4 separate regions of the Homo sapiens genome follow, and all the other regions are linked to region 1. The links are contacts of gene promoters, found by promoter capture Hi-C in blood cells and fetal thymus (Javierre and others, 2016). All regions are on one chromosome and are shown on one strand. Each heading gives the region's core, a stretch centred on a gene start or on the middle of the fragment in contact. The rest is flanking DNA. Distances are from core to core; before and after follow the strand shown.

The links. The method cuts DNA at HindIII sites, captures the fragments that hold promoters and counts their contacts. A CHiCAGO score of 5 or more calls a contact.
Region 2: a fragment that was not itself captured here is called in contact with the fragment with the promoter of ZNF284 in region 1 in 1 of 17 cell types (non-activated CD4 T cells); the score reaches 5.3 in non-activated CD4 T cells.
Region 3: a fragment that was not itself captured here is called in contact with the fragment with the promoter of ZNF284 in region 1 in 1 of 17 cell types (non-activated CD4 T cells); the score reaches 8.6 in non-activated CD4 T cells.
Region 4: a fragment that was not itself captured here is called in contact with the fragment with the promoter of ZNF284 in region 1 in 1 of 17 cell types (total CD4 T cells); the score reaches 5.0 in total CD4 T cells.

The regions. Positions count from the first base shown.
Region 1 is chr19:44,070,671-44,075,783 of GRCh38, reverse strand. It overlaps ZNF284 (zinc finger protein 284), which reads right to left and starts at 3,625. Exons shown (of 5, transcript NM_001037813.4): 1 at 3,493-3,625. The HindIII fragment of the contact is 12,821 bases long and covers 1-5,113 here.
Region 2 is chr19:36,652,239-36,657,716 of GRCh38, reverse strand. It overlaps ZNF461 (zinc finger protein 461), which reads left to right. Exons shown (of 6, transcript NM_153257.5): 4 at 1,174-1,269. Among named protein-coding and RNA genes, the nearest start is that of ZNF461, 12 kb to the left of the region's middle. The HindIII fragment of the contact is 1,042 bases long and covers 916-1,957 here.
Region 3 is chr19:36,814,995-36,820,000 of GRCh38, reverse strand. ZNF790 (zinc finger protein 790) reads left to right here. Exons shown (of 5, transcript NM_206894.4): 5 at 1-2,573. The coding sequence ends at 1,568. The region is part of intron 3 of ZNF790-AS1 (ZNF790 antisense RNA 1); the gene reads right to left. Among named protein-coding and RNA genes, the nearest start is that of ZNF790-AS1, 20 kb to the right of the region's middle. The HindIII fragment of the contact is 1,881 bases long and covers 696-2,576 here.
Region 4 is chr19:36,333,421-36,338,254 of GRCh38, reverse strand. ZFP14 (ZFP14 zinc finger protein) reads left to right here. Exons shown (of 5, transcript NM_020917.3): 5 at 1-3,802. Among named protein-coding and RNA genes, the nearest start is that of LINC00665, 4.1 kb to the right of the region's middle. The HindIII fragment of the contact is 6,588 bases long and covers 1-4,834 here.

The DNA.
Region 1 (5,113 bases), core at 2,376-4,875:
TATGTGAAATACATCTTGATAGAATTGGAAAAAATAATTGTTAATCTACATGTCATTGAAATCAGTAAGACTGAATTCTGAGTCCATATCAATAGAATATTTATAGTTGAATGAAGGAATGAATAAATGGGGGAGAAATGGAAACTCTTCTTTACAGTAGAATGTCCACTAATCATGTATCTCCCCATAAGGAACTTTATTATTTTCAAAATTTAAAAAAAGTAACTTCACAGTGGACAAATCTGAAAGACTTCATCTTGGCCAAGTGAACAAAGTTGAGATCACCAGTGAAGGGACAAACCAACATCATTTGGACACTGTTAGGTTGCAATGAAAAGGACATCTCACCACTACTATGGTATCCCTGCCAATCATGCATACTCTAAACGTAAACATGAAATTTACCAGACAAACCCCAAATGAATGTCTTTCTGCAAAACAACTTGCCTATACTCTTCAAAAAACCATGCATATAAAAGACAAAGGCTGTGGAATCCTTCTAGATTAAACAAAAGTATAGAAATGTGACAATAAAGACAATGCATAAAATTGGACTTTGAATGGGGTTACAGGTAAAAAGTGGGGCAAGGGATAGTTATAAGGACCAAAAGAAGAAACTGAATAAATTTAAATATGGAAGCTGCAGATTAGATAACAACGTTATGTAATATGGTATCCAACACTATCTAATAAATGACACTACAACTACTATTATTAGCTTTTTAACAGATGTGATATGTAATAGATAACAATATTATTTAATATAATATTTAATTATTTTTTTGAGACAGAGTCTCACTCTGTCATCCAGATCAGAGTGCAGGGGCGCCATCTCAGCTCACTGCAGCCTCTGCCTCCCAGGTTCAAATGATTCTTATGCGTCAGCCTCCCTAATAGCTGGGATTACAGGCGCACGCCCCCTCAAATTTTAAAAAAGTAACTTCACAGTGGACAAATCAGCTAATTTTTGTATTTTTAGTAGAGATGGGGTTTCTCCATGTTGGCCAGGCTGGTCTTGAACTCCTGGCCTCAAGTGATCCACCTGCCTCGGCCTCCCAAAGTGCTACAATTACAGACATAAGCCACCATGCCTAGCCAGTATAATATCTAATAGTATCTAGCATGTTATGTGAAACCCTATAACCAGCCCTTTCTAAACACCTCTTACCAAGACACCCCACAATTATCTTGAAATGTGGGCTTCTTTGCTGCAGAAAGCTACAAGCAACTGTCTCTGGCTACAGGTATGTTCCTGGTGGTATCTGGGTGATCAGCAAGAACAAAGCAAACAGGAAAAATGTAAACATTTGGCAAATTTGGGTAAAGAGTATATGAGAATTTCTAACACTATTTTTGCAATTTTTCTATAGGTTTCAAATGATATGAAAATAAAACGTTAAATATTTTTTTTTTTTGAGACCGGGAGGCAGAGGATGCAGTTTCGCTCTTGTTGCCCAGGCTGGAGTATAATGGTGCAATCTTGGCTCACTGCAACCTCCGCCTCCCGGGTTCAAGCGATTCTCCTGCCTCAGCCTCCCGAGTAGCTGGGATTACAGGCATGCGTCACCATGTCTGGCTAATTTTGTATTTTTAGTAGAGATGGAGTTTCTCCATGATGGTCAGGCTGGTCTCAAACTCCCGACCTCAGGTGATCCGCCCACCTCGGCCTCCCAAAGTGCTGGGATTACAGGCGTGAGCCACCATGCCCGGCCAATATCAGGAAACATTTACCAAAAAAAAAATGAGATAACGATGAGATAAATTAGGATGAGCATGATATAACATGTAAGTTCACTAGCTATTTCCCTCTTGGCAGTGTTTCCAAATTTCCATAGTTAAACACATAAGGGAAAACACATTTTTTTAATCATAAAATTTTGTTTAAATGTTTATAAATAAATATGCAAATATGCCAAAGAAAGACCAAAAAGAAATGCACCGGGTGCGGTGGCTCACGCCTGTAATCCCAGCACTTTGGGAGGCCGAGGCTGGTGGATCATGAGGTCAGGAGATCAAGACCATCCTGGCTAACACGGTGAAACCTCATCTCTACTAAAACTACAAAAAAATTAGCCGGGCGTGGTGGCGGGCGCCTGTGGTCCCAGCTACTCACACAGGAGGCTGAGGCAGGAGAATGGCGTGAACCTGGGAGGCGGAGTTAGCAGTGAGCCGAGATCGTGCCACTGCACTCCAGCCTGGGCAACACAGTGAGACTCTGTCTCAAAAAAAAAAAAAAAATGCACTCGAAGTTTAACAGTTACTATCTTTACATGCTGGATTCATGGGTAATTATAAACTTGTACTACTCGTATTTCTCCAATTTCTGAACGCTCCACAATCATACCGCTGCATAACAAGTGAAATATTTGTAATAAATGAAATAGTTCTAATGAATGAAATAGTTGATAAACTCCCAGAACAGTCCAAGCCCATAAGCCTTGCTCTCAAGGCTCCCTTCAATCAAGTCCTAGCTTGCTTTCCCCACTAGATTCCAGCTAGTTCCTCTGCCTCAATGAGAATGTATCCAAAAGATTATCAACTAAGGCTCTGACCTGTAACGCCCAGGTTTCAACCGCAGCTCCACCTCTTACTGCTTAGGTGACTATTCTCAGATAACTCCTGCTCCTTTGTATCTCACTCATCTTTAAAACTGAAAAAAGTAGTACCTCTCCACAGAGCCACGGTGTGGCGAAAATGTGACTACTTGTATAAAGCTCTTGGGATAAAGTTACCAATTGAGGCTTAATTATTATCAACACCCATGCCTGAGGACACATCCTACACTCTTGGTCGGGGTGAGCATCTCTGTAAAAGAAAAAAAGCCAAGGACCACTCTCGTGGAACTTTGCCCTCAGTAGCCAAGAAGTCCCTCCCTGCAGCTCTTTTTGAGAATCAGGCTGGGGAAGGAGAAAGCTGTGAAACACCCTGACCGCATTGCCGTCCGGCATAAAAGTTAAATGTTCCTCTCCCTTCGTGGAAATGGAAACAACCCTCGCCTTCCTAAAAAGAGGTCAGAAGCGTCCGGGATCACCCAGCGTCCTGCAGGAATCAGAGACAAGGGCGGGGATCCCTGCAGATGGAGCTCTGACCCCACCCGGGGACCTGACAGGCTTCGTGGGAAATAAACACTAAGAAGAGACCACCAGTCACTAAGGGAGGGGCTGCTTTAAGGCTTTCATTTGTGTTACCTCTTCCAGTTCCCAAAACGATTTCATTAGGATGGTCCTAAAGTCCCCATTTTAAAGAACAGCAGTGGGAGGTACAGGGAGATTAATAACATCCCAACCCTAAATTGTGAGAAAGTAGCCTCACAGGTGGGATGGAGGGAGGCGGACTGAGCGAGCTGAGAGCCCCAAAAACCCTCAAACCAGGCGAGACGCGTCCCGACCAAGTCCCAACCCCCAGCCTCATGCCCGGGGACGCGAGGACAGCCCCAAGACCAAGAAGGCTCCGCTGACAAGAACGAAAAGAGAGGCCGTTGTCCCTCCAAACCTCCGTTTTCCAACGAGACTCCTTCTCCCCTTAGTCAACTTCCAGGTGGTTGCGAGCCAGCATCGTAAGGGGACACGTTTAGAAGGACCGACAAGACACAGGACTGACACCAAACTACCACCGAATGCACTGCAGCAACCTCGCCCCCCGGGAGCGGAAGTGCCCCTACCCCGCGCAGCGTGTGAACTACATTTCCCAGAATTCCCCGGATACGCCGTCCTGAGCCTACTTGCTCGTCATTCAACAGATCTCCTGCGCTACACTTCCTTGAATCTCAAAGGAGACGTTCTATAGTATCACCTTCCGGCGGGAAGCGTGGGACTCCGCGGTGCTCTTTGACTACACTTCCTGCAATGCCCACGAGGAATGAATCCCATAGACCCAAGCGCCTGGTTTGGAATATGGACTGTGGCCCTGAGAGTGGTCCTTCCCTCTCCCTGCGTCCTCGAGAGAAAATATTGAATAGACAGGAATTCCTGAAGTCTACACGCCTCCCATGATGACAGGAGTGTTACTGAAAGAGAACAAAGCAAGGAGATACAATCTTCAAGGAGTTAGCGGGGAGTGACTGTGGAGCGGTCAGGAGATGGCTGAAAGGCTAATATACTAGACGCTAATAGTATGAGGCTAAATCTAAGAGCTTAAATAATGGGCCAGGAAAAATGGTTTGGGAGAGGCATTGAGTGGGGCACCAGCCCCTGGTACAACCAGACACTGTTGTACCACTGGTTTGGCAAGAAAAACAACCACAGTTTAAGTGTTTAAGAGGGCTGTAAGAGTTAAAGAGAAAAAAAAAAAAAACACGAAAAGCGGCTCAACAGTCAAAGACAGGTTCGTTTTGGAGAATAAACCGAGAGGGCCTTCTGGCCGATTGCAGTCAGGAGCGCTCTCTCTTACGGACTAAGAGTATGTATTGGCTTTAGGGAGAGAGAGCTTACCACAGGCTTAGAATGTTTCTGTATTGGGGAGAAGTCTGTTGTGGGGTTGGAATATCTCTGGTTGGAGGGGAAGTTATCTTGGGACTGACATCTCTCCAATGGAAGGGAGGTTATCTCGGTGCTGGCATGTCTCTGGTCAGGGAGGGGTTTATCTTATGGTTGGAATGTTTCTGATTGGAGATGTCATTTGTGGTTTATGGTCATGCTGACCTTAGCCATTAGGCTGATGCCCTTTGGATTTAGGCAGTTTTTGATCAACGCGAACTTTAAAATGGCAGTGTTTGTCCAAGATGGCGATGCTCCTGCCCTGTCAAGGGCCAATATGGAGGGCCAATTGCCCTCCTGGAAAAGCTATCTTCCCACTTTTAAAGTTTTCATATTAATATTCTTTAGACGTGGAAATGCCACATTTAAGAGAAATTAAACTGCTTAGTATTGTGAAAGGAAAATATCTTGGGCCCCCAAAATCACTAAGGAAATCTCAAGCTGGAAATCGCTTAGGGCAAACCTGCCTCCCATTCTATTCAAAGTCACTCCTCTATCTGTCCTTGCTATCACGAGAACAGCATGGGAAAGACCCACTCCCATGATTCAATTACCTCCTACTAGGTCCCTTTCATGATATGTGGGAATTATGGGAGCTATAATTCAAGATGAGATTTGGGTGGAGACACAGCCAAACC
Region 2 (5,478 bases), core at 187-2,686, 7.4 Mb after region 1:
AACCTCTGCCTCCCAGCTTCAAGCAATTCTCCTGCCTCAGCCTCCCGAGTAGCTGTGATTACAGGCATGTGCCAACACGCCTGGCTAGTTTTGTATTTTTAGTAGAGATGTGTTTTTTCCATGTTGGTCAGGCTGGTCTCAAACTCCCGACCTCAGGTGATCCACCTGCTTCGGCCTCCCAAAGTGCTGGGATTACAGGCATGAGCCACCGCACCTGGCCTTTTTAATTTTTTTTTGAGACAGAGTTTCACTTTTGTTGCCCAGGCTAGAGTGCAATGGCATATCTTGGCTCACTGCAACCTCTGCCTCCCAGGTTCAAGCAATTCTCCTGCCTCAGCCTCCTGAGTAGCTGGGATTACAGGTGCCCGCCACCACGCCCAGCTAATTTTTGTATTTTTAGTAGAGACAGGGTTTCACCATGTTGGCCAGGCTGGTCTCGAATTCCTGATCTCAAGTGATCCACCCGTCTTGGCCTCCCAAAATGCTGGGATTACAGGTGTGAGCCACCGCGCCTGACCTGTACTCTCTTTTAAGTGATTTGCCTTTGGAAGTTATTTTTAAAGAACTTTGTACAGTTAACATTAAAAAAAAAAAGGAGGCTGGGTGCTGTGGCTCATGCCTGTAATCCCAGCACTTTGGGACGCTGAGGCAAGTGGATCACCTGAGGCCAGGAGTTTGAGACCAGCCTGGCCAATATGGGCCAAACCCCGTTTCTACTAAAATACAAAAATTAGCCAGGCAGAGTGGTGTGCGCCTATAATCCCAGCTACTTAGGAGGCTGAGGCAGGAGAGTCACTTGAACCCGTGAAGTGGAGGTTGCAGTCAGCCAAGATTGTGCCATTGCACTCCAGCCTGGACAACAAGAGCAAAACTCCATCTCAAAAAAAAAAAAAAGAATAAATATCTCAAGAAGCTTCTTTTTTTTCCTCACAGCAAAAAAGAGAAACCTTACATAAATTTAAGTACTATTTTATCGCCTGTTTGTTTGCTTTGTTTGTTATGATCCTGTGTTCATCTGAATATGAGTGTTTCATCTCTTCTCCTTTATTTCCTCTGTATCCCTTATCAAGTACCATTTTTATCTGTGATTTATTTTTATTTTAATCAGTTCTAAATCACTGTATTTGGATACATTCATTTCCATCTCATCTCAATTTCTTTTCTTATAACTAGGACTTTCTGTTTCTAAGCCAGCCGTAATCTCCTCATTGGAGCAAGGGAAGGAGCCCTGGATGGTTGTGAGGGAAGAGACAGGAAGATGGTGCCCAGGTGAGTGAGCAAGCACAGGAAGCTCTTGCAGAGAGCAGGCCAGCTGGTCAGAATGTTGGGCTGGCAAGTTTATTTTAAACCAAACTTTGGGAAAACCTGATTTCAAAACATATTACAAAGATATAGTAATCAAACAGTGTGGTACTGGCATAAAGATATTCTAGGCCGGGCGCGGTGGCTCACGCCTGTAATCCCAGCACTTTGGGAGGCCGAGGCGGGCAGATCACGAGGTCAGGAGATCGAGACCACGGTGAAACCCCGTCTCTACTAAAAATACAAAAAATTAGCCGGGCGCAGTGGTGGGCGCCTGTAGTCCCAGCTACTCGGGAGGCTGAGGCAGGAGAATGGTGTGAACCCGGAAGGCGGAGCTTGCAGTGAGCGGAGATCGCGCCACAGCACTCCCGCCTGGGCGACAGAACGAGACTCCGTCTCAAAAAAAAAAAAAAAAAAAGATATTCTAAAGGAATAGAATAGAAAGCCCAGAAATAAACCCTTGCATAAATAGTCAAATTATTTTAGACAAGGGTGCCAACACTTCCATGGAGAAAATTGGATTATCCACAGGCAAAGGAATACAGTTGTACCCTTGTCTTACACCATATAGAAAAATTAACTCAGAATGGATCAAAGACCTAAATGTGAGAGCTAAAGCAATAAAACTCTAAGTAGAAAATATTGGAGAAAAGCTTCATGACATTGGATTTGGCAATGATTTATTGTGTATAATACCAAAAGCACTGGCAACAAAAGCAAAAACAGACAAATGGGACTACATCAAACCTAAAAACTTCTGTACATCAAAGGACACAATCTATAGTGTTTATTAATTTTTGTTTGTTTGTTTTGAGACAGGGTTTCACTCTGTCACTCAGGCTGGATGGAGTACAGTGGTGCAAACTCAGCTCACTGCAACCTCTGCCTCCCTGGCTCAAGCAATCCTCTCACCTAAGTTTCCTGAGTAGCTGGAACTACAGGCCCATGCCACCATGCATGGCTAATTTTTTAATTTTTTGCAGAGATGAGGTCTCACTGTATTGCCCAGGCTGGTCTCGACCTCCTTAAGCAATCCTCCCACCTCAGCCTCTGAAAGTGCTAGGATTACAGGCATACACCACTGTGCCCAGCCTGCTTATTAGTTTTTTAAAAGATTCAGGCTGGGCTCAGTGGCTCACACCTGTAATCTCAGCACTTTGGGAGGCTCAGGTGGGAGGATTACTTGAGCTTAGGAGTTTGTGACCAGTCTGGGCAACATAGCAAAAGCCCTGTCTTTACAAAAAATTAAAAATTAAAATATTCACCAGGCATGGTGGTACATGCCTGTAGTCCCAGATGTTCAGCAGACTGAGGTGGGAGATCACTTGAGCCCAGGAGTTTGAGGCTACAGTGAGCCAAGATTGTACCACTTTACTCCAGTCTAGGTGACACTGCAAGATGCTGTCTCTAAATAAATAGATAAAAGATCCATACAAGTTGCTTTGCTAGGTGATGGGAATACATTTTTAAAGTGTTATAGAGACGTTTTCAATCTAACAGGGGATCAACAATACATGGATGGATGTTCTAATAGAATCACTAGGCAAAAAAATAGTGTTGATCAGAAATTAGGAAAGTTAGAGAAAGTAATATATGACTATATTGAGGAGGTAGAGATGGCAGAGGGATGATTGAGAAGGAAGGAGATCAACCAGGAAAGTTTGGGGTGCTATAGACCAAGGGCAGATCCATTCTACAGGCTAGAGTTCTTTGATGATGTCTGTGATTCATTGAAGTGCTATAGGCTGAACATGGTGGCTCATGCCTGTAATCCCAGCACTTTGGGTGGCCAAGGTGGAAGGATTGCTTGAGCCTAGGAGTTTGAGACCAGTCTGGGCAATATAGTGAGACCCTGTCTGTACCAAAAAGAAAAAAAAAAATTAGCCTAGCATGGTGGCATGCTACCTGTAGTCCCATCTACTCAAGGGGCTGAGTTGGGAGTATTGCTTGAGCCTGGGAGGTCAAGGCTGCAGAGAGCCATGATTCTGCCATTGCACTCTAGTCTGGGTAACAGAGCAAGACCCTGTCTCAATCAATCAATCAATCAAGTGCTACAGAACTGTGAGAGAATACATTTGTGTTGTTTTAAGCCACCCAGTTTGTGGGACTTTGTTAATGGCAGCCCTAGGAAACTAATAGAGAGGAATCATGGAAAAATGGTACATATTCTCATACATATTTTAATGTAAAGATAACATTCCTTTACCAGTTTTTTTATACCTGGGTAGGCCTTTTCCTTGGCATGAATTTTCTTTAAAAAAAGACTTTTTATTTTGAAATAATTATGGATTCACAAGAGGTTGCAAAGAAATGTACAGGGGAGTCCTGTGTACCCCCTTTGCAGCTTCCCCCAGGGTTAATACCTTACCCAACTATAGTACAATACCATACCAAAAAATTGACATTGCTGCAATTCATAGAACTTACTCAGATTTCACCAGTTATACATGCACTCATTTCTGTGTGTATATTTATAGCTCTATGCAGTTTTATCACATGTAGCCTTGTGTCACCACCACAATAGCCAAAATACTCAACAATACCTCACAAGACTCCCTTGTGTTAGCTATACTTATCCCATTTCTCTTTTTCCTAACCCTTGTGATATTGTTTGGCTGTGTCCCTTCCCAAATCTCATCTTGAATTGTAGGCTGCCATAATTCCCACGTGTTGTGGGAGGGACCAGGTGGGAAATAATTGAATCATGGGGGCACTTTCCCCCATACTGTTCTCGTGGTAGTGAATAAGTGTCACAAGATCTGATGGTTTTATAAGGGGTTTCCCCTTTCGCTTGGCTCTCATTCTCTCCTGTCTGCTGTCATGTAAGATGTGCCTTTGCTCTTCCTTTGCCTTCTGCCATGATTGTGAGGCCTCCCCAGCCACATGGAACTGTGAGTCCATTAAACCATTTTCTTTATAAATTACCCAGTCCTGGGTATGTCTTTATCAGCAGCATGAGAGCAGACTAATACACCTTGGCAACCACTGTTCTGTTCTCTGTATAATTATGTAATTTCATAAATGTTACATAAATAGAATCCTGCAATACTTGTCCTTTGGAAAATGGCTTTTTTCCTTTTATTTCATATACACATACACATATATATGGGTTTTTGTTTTTTACATTCATGTACAAACTTGTACATGAAAACAAGTCTTCATTTGTTTATGATAAATGCTCAAGAGTGTAGTTGCTGGGTGGTGTAATAAGTCCATTTTTAGTTTTTCAAGGAGCTGCCAAATTATTGTCAACAATGTTTGTACCGTCTTACATTCTTAACTGGCAATGTATGTGTGATCCAGTTTCTCTAATCATAGTCAGCACTTGGTGTTCTAATTGTTTTTCATTGTAGCCATTCTAATAGGTGGGTAATTATATCTTATTGTGGTTTTAATTTTGAATTTCCTTAATGGCAAGTAATGTTGAACATCTGTGTGTGCCATCTGTCTATCCTATTTAGTGAAATGTCTCTCCATGCCTTTTGCCCATTTTCTAATTTGGTTAGTTTTATATTGTTGAGTTTTCAAAGTTCTTTTTGTATCTTAGACAGAATGCCTTTGTTGGATTTATGACCTGCAAATATTTTCTCCCAGTCTGTAATTTGTCTTTTTTTGAGCGGTAGCAAGGTTTATCGTGAAGAGCGAAAGAACAAAGCTTCCACAGCATGGAAGGGGACCCCAGCGGGTTGCCCTGTAATTTGTCTTTTTATCCTTTTAACAGGGTCTTTGCAGAGCAAAAGTTTTTAATTTTGATGAGGTCTAGTTTATCTTCTTTTCTCTTATGAATTGTGTTTTTGGTGTGTGTATGTGTATTTAGTGTCACGTCTAAGAACTGTTTGCCTACTCAAAGGTCCTTAAGATTTTCTCCAATGTTCTTTTTTAGAAATTTTATAGTTTTTGTTTTTTTTTTTTTTGAGACGGAGTCTTGCTCTGTCACCCAGGCTGGAGTGCAATGGGGCAATCTCAGCTCACTGCAACGTCCACCTCCCAGGTTCAAGTGATTCTCCTGCCTCAGCCTTGCAAGCAGCTAGAATTACAGGCACGTGCCACCACACCCAGCTAATTTTTGTATTTTTTTTTTTTTTAGTAGAGGCGGGGTTTCACCATGTTGGCCAGGCTGGTCTCGAACTCCTGACCTCAGGCGATCTGCCTGCCTCCACCTCCCAAAGTGCTGGG
Region 3 (5,006 bases), core at 387-2,886, 7.3 Mb after region 1:
TATGTTTTAGAGGTGACTGGGAAGGCAACACTCAGTTTCAAACACTTCAAGATAATCAAGAGGAATGCTTCAAGCAGGTGATACGCACCTGTGAAAAAAGGCCCACTTTTAACCAGCATACAGTGTTTAATCTACACCAGAGACTTAATACAGGAGACAAACTGAATGAATTTAAAGAACTGGGGAAAGCCTTTATTTCTGGTTCAGATCATACTCAACATCAGTTAATTCACACAAGTGAGAAATTCTGTGGAGATAAAGAATGTGGGAATACCTTTCTTCCTGATTCAGAAGTTATTCAATATCAGACAGTTCACACTGTTAAGAAAACATATGAATGTAAAGAATGTGGGAAGTCTTTTAGTTTACGTTCGAGTCTTACTGGTCATAAGAGAATTCATACCGGTGAGAAACCTTTTAAATGTAAGGATTGTGGGAAAGCCTTTAGATTTCATTCACAACTTAGTGTCCATAAGCGAATTCATACTGGTGAGAAATCTTATGAATGTAAGGAATGTGGGAAGGCCTTTAGTTGTGGCTCAGATCTTACTCGACATCAGAGAATTCATACTGGTGAAAAACCCTATGAATGTAATGAATGTAGAAAGGCCTTTAGTCAGCGATCACATCTTATTAAACATCAGAGAATTCACACTGGTGAAAAACCTTATGAATGTAAGGAGTGTGGGAAAGCTTTTACTCGTGGATCACACCTAACTCAGCATCAGAGAATTCATACTGGTGAGAAATCTCATGAGTGTAAGGAATGTGGAAAAGCCTTTATTCGTGGTTCAAATCTTGCTCAACATCAGAATGTTCATGTTGGTAGGAAACCTTATAAATGTGAGAAATGTGGGAAAGCCTATATTTGGAGCTCACACCTTGCTCGACATCAGCGAATTCATACTGGCAGGAAACCTTATGAATGTAAGCAATGCGGGAAGACTTTTACTTGGGCTTCGTATCTTGCTCAACATGAGAAAATTCACAATGAGAGGAAATCCTATGAATGTAAGGAATGTGGAAAGACCTTTCTTCATGGCTCAGAGTTTAATCGACATCAGAAAATTCATACTGGTGAGAGAAACTATGAATGTAAGGAATGTGGAAAGACCTTTTTTCGTGGTTCAGAACTTAATCGACACCAGAAAATTCATACTGGAAAGAGGCCATATGAATGTGAAGAATGTGGAAAAGCCTTTCTCTGGGGTTCACAACTTACTCGACATCAGAGAATGCATACTGGTGAGGAACCTTACGTATGTAAAGAATGTGGGAAATCTTTTATCTGGGGTTCACAGCTTACACGACATAAGAAAATTCATACTGATGCAGAACCTTATGGATGCAAGAAAAGTAGCCACATCTTTAGTCACCATTCATATTTTACTGAACAAAAAATTCATAATAGTGCAAATCTCTGTGAATGGACAGACTATGGGAACACCTTTAGTCATGAGTCAAACTTTGCTCAACACCAGAATATTTACACTTTTGAGAAATCCTATGAATTTAAAGATTTTGAGAAAGCATTTTCTTCAAGCTCTCACTTCATTTCACTCTTGTGAAATATTATATAAAAGTGTAGGAAGGGCTTTATTCATGACTCATTAATTGATGTCATTTATTTTTTTCTCTTGAGGAACACCACAAATGTAAGTAATATTGGAAGGCATTTTAACAGAGCACACATCCAGCAGCAGCAGCAGCAGCAGCAGCAGAGAATTCATCATGCAATCAATATAGGAAAGAAATTACTGATCAGTTATCAATTGCAGAATATCAGGGTAAAATTTTATGAGATAGCATGAATTCTTTTTGAATCATTCTCAAAACATTCTCATCAGAGATGTTGCATAAAGAATTTATATATAATTTGGCCAAGCATGGTGGCTCACACCTGTTATCCTAGCACTTTGGGAAACAGAGGTGGGTGGATCACCTGAGGTCAGGGGTTCGAGACCAGCCTGACCAACATGGTGAAACCCTGTCTCTACTAAATATACAAAAATTAGCCGGGCGTGGTAGCACACGCCTGTAGTCCCAGCTACTCGGGAGGCCGAGGCATGAGAATTCCTTGAACCTGGGAGGTGGAGGTTGCAGTGAGCCAAGATCACATCACTGCACTCCAGCCTGGGTGATAGAACAAGACTCCATCTCAAAAACAAAAACCCACAAGAATTTATATATAATTCATTTTGGAAATCTTTCATCATTAGCAAAATTCTGTTGTATTTCCACAAAAATCATGTAATTAATCTAGAAAAGCCTTGAACTATGTCATACAATTTATTTGGCATGTCTTGTTTCAATACATCCTGCCTCTATTTTTTTTTTTTGGAAAGTATCTTAAATCTATGTCTGTTTAATCGTATTCATTAGATTATAAGGGTTGAATGATTTGAGATTTACATGACTTAGTGACTGTCATTTGTATTGGTATTAAGCCATTTTATGAGAGGAGGACTTTTAAGACTATAATGATTATAGACAAATATGTCATCTCTATTTATGTCTTACTGAACATCAGAATGTTAATTCTGAAAAAAAATCAGTAAAATACAATGAAGAAAGCTTTGAATATTAATTTCACATGCTACATCAAAAAAACCTATAAAAGAAAGCCTTATGACTTTAGTAAAAGTGGGGTTGTTGAGTGTTCAGCAGTTTTTTAAAAGACATTCAGAAATAACTTCTCTCTAACAAATTTCTAAAGCCAAGTGTTATATAATTCTTTACCACAGTTATAACTCAGAAACTAGCAAATGGATAGCCATATGGATTCTTACCTCTTTGAAATTTACTACTATATATAAACCATTCTTAGATTAAAGAGCAAATAAAAAGTGAAATTACAGAGTATTTAGAATGATAATGAGACCTATATTTTAAATCCTGTGAAATAACTAAAACAGTTATCAATAGAAATTGCTCTGTGTATAAAACCAAGAAGACTGAGGGCAGTTTGTTTCTCTTCATCACTGTATCCACAGCACTGTATCCACAGCACTTAGGACAGTGCCTATAATGTTGTAGGGCCTCAAATATTTATTGAGTTAAATAATGATTACACAGCAAGGTAGAATAAGAACAAATACCCCAAATGAATGAATGGAAAGGCTTAATGAAAAGCTGAAATCATGGAATAAAAAACCATACAGGTTTTTCATCAAAATCTAGTCCTTTGAAGAAAACTATTATTCATTAGACTTTGTCAGTGCCTCTACTATATTATAAGGAGAAATGGAATATAACTATATGTTTGGAGATATTTTTTAGTATTAAGTATGTGAACTCTGTTAGACATGATTTTTATATGTGTACGGTTTTTTTCTAGGAAAACATTATTAAATATGATTAAGTTTCAAAAACAACCCAAAAAGTTCAAAAAATAGAAAAAAGTATCATGTAAGATGAGGTTGAGCACAGTGGCTCATGCCTGTAATCCAAACACTCTGGGAGGTTGAGACAGGAGTATCACTTGAACCAGGAGTTCCAGACTTGCCTGGACAACATAGGGAGACCCCCATCTCTGCAAAAAATAAATTAGCCAGGTGTGGTGGCACATGCCTCTGGTCCCAGCTACTCAGGAGGCTGAGGTGAGAGGACTGCTTGGGCCCAGGAGTTTGAGGCTGCAGTAAGCTGTGATCACCCCACTGCACTGCAGTCGGTGATGGAGCAAGACCCTGTCTAAAACAAAACAAAACAAACATGTAAGACTAGAAAACTGTACAGGCTACACCCTGAAGAATAGAAAATCCTATGGAAAATTTGCCAGGGCATGCTAAAAGACTAACATTTTTATAATAAAAGTAGATGGGATAGCTCTTGAACATCAAATTCCAGAAAAATTTCACTCATGAAGATACATGAAAAAAACTTACATAGATGAACCCAATATTTAATCAAAGAATAATATAGTAGATATTTGCTTATAATGTTTAAGCTCTGAGCAGGATGGATAATTTTTATTTTTGAGGTGGAGTCTCACTCTAGTTGCCCAGGCTGGAGTGCAGTGGGGTGATCTTGGCTCATTACAATCTCTGCCTGCCAGGTTCAAATGATTCTCCTGCATCAGCCTCCCGAGTACCTGGGATTACAGGCACCCTCCACCATGCCTGGCTAATTTTTGTATTTTCAATAGAGATGGGGTTTCACCATGTTGGCCAGGCTGGTCTCGAGCTCCCGACCTCAGGTGATCCGCCCACCTCAGCCTCCCAAAGTGCCAGGATTACAGGTGTGAGCCACCGTGACCAGCCTGGATGGGTAATTCTGAATGATGAAAAGTTACTTTATCAATTTCTTCTAAGTGAAGTTCTTGGTATCTTTTAGTGTTACATGAGTTAAGAAATGGTGACTATATGTACACATATTTAGCACATTTTGTAAGTCACACCTTTAACAGGTAGTTCCCTCCTAAATTATTGTCATCTATGGAATTTCACAATTTGTGTGAAAAATAATTTTTTGTTATGTAACTGTATTGTAATAAGCCATTTTCATTCATGTTGACTAGATCTTTTTTAAGGTGACAAGTACACTGAGATGGAGTTTCACTCTGTTGCCAGGCTGGAGTGCGCTTGCACAATCTTGGCTCACTGCAACCTCCGCCTCCCGGGTTCAAGAGATTCTCCTGCCTCAGCCTCCCGAGAGGCTGGGACTACAGGCATGCGCCACCATGCCCAGCTAGTTTTTGTATTTTTAGTAGAGATGGGGTTTCCCCATGTTGGCCAGGATGATCTCGATCTCTTGACCTCGTGATCTGCCCGCCTCAGCCTCCCAAAGTGCTGGGATTACAGGCGTGAACCACCGCACCCAGCTATGTTTATACTTTCAAAAACAGTGGAAGGATAAGCCAAGACCTAATCAAAATGATGAAATAATAGGTGGGAGCAGGGTGTGGTGGTGCACGCCTGTAATCCCAGCTACTTGGGAGGACATGGTAGGAGGATCCCTCGAGCATAGGAGTTCAAGTCCAACCTGGGCAACATAGCAAAACCCCTGTC
Region 4 (4,834 bases), core at 357-2,856, 7.7 Mb after region 1:
CTTTGGGAGGACAAGGTGGGTGGATCACTTGAGGCCAGGAGTTTGAGACCAACCTGGTTAACATGGTGAAACCCTGTCTGTACTAAAAATACAAAATTTAGCCAGGCATGGTGGCACACACCTGTAGTCCCAGGCTGAGGTGGGAGGATCACTTGAACCCAAGAGGCAGAGTTTGCAGTGAGCTGAGATCGTGCCACTGCACTCCAGCCTGGGTGACAGAGTGAGACCCTGTCTCAAAAAAAAAATTTGTTTTTTGAATGGGTTTTTCTTTTTTGAAGAAGTCTAATAAATCTAGAAGGAATTAGAGGATTAGAAAAATCACCATTTTCTAGACCTTAATGGAATAATGGGTCCAGAAAACATGATCTTCAATGGGTACTACAACTAATAGGTGAAATATTTTATAGCGAGATTTTTATGGTGGATCTATCAAACTGGCCACCTCTGAACCCTTTGATCTGTTTTAACCTTAATAAAAATGGGTCTATCAGACAACACACTTCCTGACGTAATGCAATAGGAAGTCCACACCACCATCTACAAAGCCTTATTGCTGGAATAATGAACTGAAAGCAGACAGGGACTAGATGAACAGTATATGGTCATCCCTTGGTATCCATGGGGAATTGGTTCCAGGATCCTCCACTGATGGTAAAATCTGAGGATGCTCAAGTCCCTTGTATAAAATGGCATAGTATGTATTTGCATATTACCTACTCACATCTTCCTGTATACTTTAAATTATCTTTAGATCACTTATACCTATCACAATGTAAATACTATGTAAATAGTTGTTATACTGTATTTTTCAATTTGCATTATTTTTATTGTATTTTATTTTTATTGTTTTTTTTTGAGTATTTTCTATTTGAGATTGGTTGAATCTGCACATATGGAGGGCTGGCTATAAAGGGCACCACAAGGAAGAAGCCAAACAGATCCAGAATGTGTGAAATTCTACAGAGCAAATTACCTGATTTCTTCAACTAACAGGTAGCATGAAAATACAAGGGGAAGGGCAACCATTAACAGATTAAAAGAGACTTAAAGAGACATATCAACTAAATTCAGTATGTTGGCATTACTTGGACCTGGTTTGAACAAAACATAAAAAGCCATTTTGGAGACAGTGAGGGAAGTGTGGACATGGACTAAATATTAAATGATATTTACATATATTAATTTGGTTAGGGATTATGTCAGTGTGATTATAAAAAATAAAAGATCGTATGATATGAGATACATACTATGAAATGAAGATAGACACATTTGGATTAAAATATTCTAGCAAAAGAAATAATTGGCAAAGAGAGCTGGAAACTAAATTGGCAACATGTTGATAATTTAAGTGGAGTGTTTTGTTCATGGAGACTTATTGTTCTAATATTTCTACTTTTGTATGTGTTTGAAATTTCAATAATAAAATGTTTAAAATCAAAACCAAAATTATAGACTATGTAGAAATGAATGACAGTGAGATGCCTGCACATCTAACCTTGTCAGATATAATCAAAGTTCTGTTCAGTGACAAATTAATGCCCTGTAATGTGGTAAGGAAATCTTATTTGTGGATACAGTCTTCATCTTCTTCACTTACCCACAGCAGCAACACCAGGCCTGTCACACAGATGAATGTGTTGAGGGAATGAATAAGTATTTCCGTCAAGAAAAAGGAAACAACAAAATAAAACCAACCCAAGTAAAGAACAGCCAAGTGGCCAGGTGCGGTGGCTCATGCCTGTAATCCCAGCACTTTGGGAGGCCATGGCAGGTGGATCACCTGAGGTCGGGATTTTGAGACCAGCCTGACCAACACTGAGAAACCCCATCTCTATTAAAGATACAAAATTAGCCAGGCATGGTGGTGCATGCCTGTAATCCCAGCTACTTGGGAGGCTAAGGCAGGAGAATCACTTGAATCCAGGAGGCGGAGTTTGTGGTGAGTTGAGATCGCGCCACTGCACTCCAGCCTGGGTAACAGAGCAAGAGTCTGTCAAAAAAAAAAAAAAAAAAAAAGGAACAGCCAAGTAACAGTAGAAAGTAGAAATTAAGAGAATGGAGAATATTAGACTTGATTCAATGTTAATAGTGATTAGATTTTGGCAGTTATAATCAAGGAAGAGAAAATGAAAGATAATACATTTAGAGTATTAATGATGATAAAAGAGACACAACTCTAGATTATATCAAGCAGATTTTTAAAATTATAAGGCAAAACTAGGCCGGGCACAGTGGCTCACACCTGTAACCCCAGCACTTTGGGAGGCCGAGGTGGGTGGATCACTTGAAGTCAGGAGTTCGAGACCAGCCTGACCAACATAGCAAAACCCCATCTCTACTAAAAATACAAAAATTAGCCTGTCATGGTGGCGGGCACCTGTAATCTAAGCTACTGGGGAGCCTGAGGCAGGAGAATTGCTTGAACCCAGGAGGCAGAGGTTGCGGTGAACCAAGATCACGCCACTGCACTCCAGCCTGGGTGACAGAGTGAGAACCTGTCTCAAAAATAATAAACATAATATGGTAAAACTATACATGCACACATGCACAAACGTGTATATTCATTCCAGTACAAGTAAAAATGTAGGATTGCATTTTTCCCCCAAAAGGAATATGTTTTACAATTAACTCACCGTATAACCCAAATAGATTAACAAAAAATGTGTGTGTGTGTGTGTGTGTGTGAACTCCCTGTTTAAAAAATCTGATACTTATAAAAACTTTAAGGAATAGATAATCCTAAAGATTTTACCAATTAATTCTGCAAGGTAAAATAATCCTAATAAAAATTAGATGAAGATAGTTTCTGAAAGCAAATTCTAGACCACCTTCATTATGAAGATTCTATTTTTCACAATTCTAAATAAAGTTTATTTAGAATTTATTACAAAATCTATCTTTGCTAATAGGTCAGTGTTTCTTTTCCCAAGCACCAAATACCTCCAGAAAGCCTGTGTTTGACCCCTAAATTCAACATTCTCCAGAAGTTTGCTTCAAGGAATATTAATTCTCGATGGTATTTGAAAAAAAGATTTCTTGGGAAAATAGGCAAATGAAGCAAAACATAAAACATCTACTTTTGGCCAGGCACGGTGGCTCACGCCTGTAATCCCAACATTTTGGGAGGCCAAGGCGAGCAGATCACTTGAGGTCAGGAGTTTGAGACCAGCCTGGCCAACATGGTGAAACCCTGTCTCTACTAAAAATACAAAATTAGCTGGGCGTGGTGGCTTGCACCTGTAATCCCAGCTACTTGGGAGGCTGAGGCAGGAGAATTGCTTGAACCCAGGAAATGGAGATTGCAGTGAGCTGAGATTTTGCCATTGCACTCCAACCTGGGCAACAAGAGTGAAACTCAGTCTCAAATAAAATAAAATAAAAATCTACTTTTGAGGAATTCAAAGTATACATGATCAGTTTGCCAAAGATTTAGTAAAGACATTTTTATTTAACTGAGTGTATCTCAAATTTATTGTGGAATTCTCAGTCCGAATATCTGGAATAGGAACAGCTTTGTTAGATGCTACCATAACCACAATGAATGTCTTCAAGGGTGTAATTTTAGATATGGTGAGTGGTTGTGTTGGGGGCGGCATAAGTCAGGGCAATTTTTTGCAGCTCATATCATGCTCTGAAAGTAGCTACCTGCTTTAATGGATGGTTAGTGCTTTTCTATAGAATGGAAAAGATTCCAGCCCGATCCTTGATATGTTTGTGTTAAACATGCTTATATATTATATTAAACAATGATTAAGGACATAAATGAGTTTCTGTGGTAATAAAGATGCTATATTGAATATCATTTTGTGTATTTTTTAATTTCCTTAAAGAGTCAAGAATCTAAGGTATTACCTAGAAATGAAATTGTTCGTTATAGGCTGTATACACTTTCAGCTTCACTGCTTATTGCCAAATTGTGGCTCCACCATTGTTCCAGTTTTGAATCCCTTTGATCATTGAATATCAGTGTTCATATTTCCCTACCTCTGCTATAAGTTTCAATATTTATTACACTGGGCCAGGCACGGTGGCTCACACCTATAATCCCAGCACTTTGGAAGGCCAAGGCAGGAGGATTGCTTGAGCCCAGAAGTACGAGACCAGGCTGGGCAACATGGCAAAACTCCATTTCTACAGAAAATACAAAAATTGGTTGGGTGCGGTGGCATGTGCCTGTGGTCTCAGCTACTTGGGAGGCGGAGGTGGACGGATCACTTGAGTCTGGGAAGTCAAGGCTGCAGTAAGCTGTGATCATGCCACTGCACTCCAGCCTGAGTGTTGGAGTGAGACCCGGTTTCAAAAAAAAAAAAAATTATTACCTTGATTACAAGTGAGTCAAGCATCTGTTCATATGCGTTTATTGGCCAATCGTGTTTACTGTGCTTTTTAATGATGCCTTTGCTGTATTTTTTTTTGCATTCTCATTTATTGATTTTTCAGGATTCTTAAAATAGTTTAGTATCGGTCGGGTGCGGTGGCTCACGCCTGTAATCCCAGCACTTTGAGAGGCCAAGGCAGGTGGATCACCTGAGGTCAGGAGTTCAAGACCAGCCTGGCCAACATGGTGAAACCCCATCTCTACTAAAAATACAAAAATTAGCTGGGCGTGGTGGTGCTCACCTGTAATCCCAGCTACTCGGGAGGCTGAGGCAGGAGAATCTCTTGAACCCAGGAGGCAGAGGTTGCAGTGAGCCGAGATCGCGCCACTGCACTCCAGCCTGGGTGACAGAATGAGACTCCCTCTCAAAAAAAAAATTTTTTTTTTAGGTATTGATCATTTTAGGTATTAAACATTTATAACCTGACCTCAAGTTATCTGCCTGCCTCGACCTCC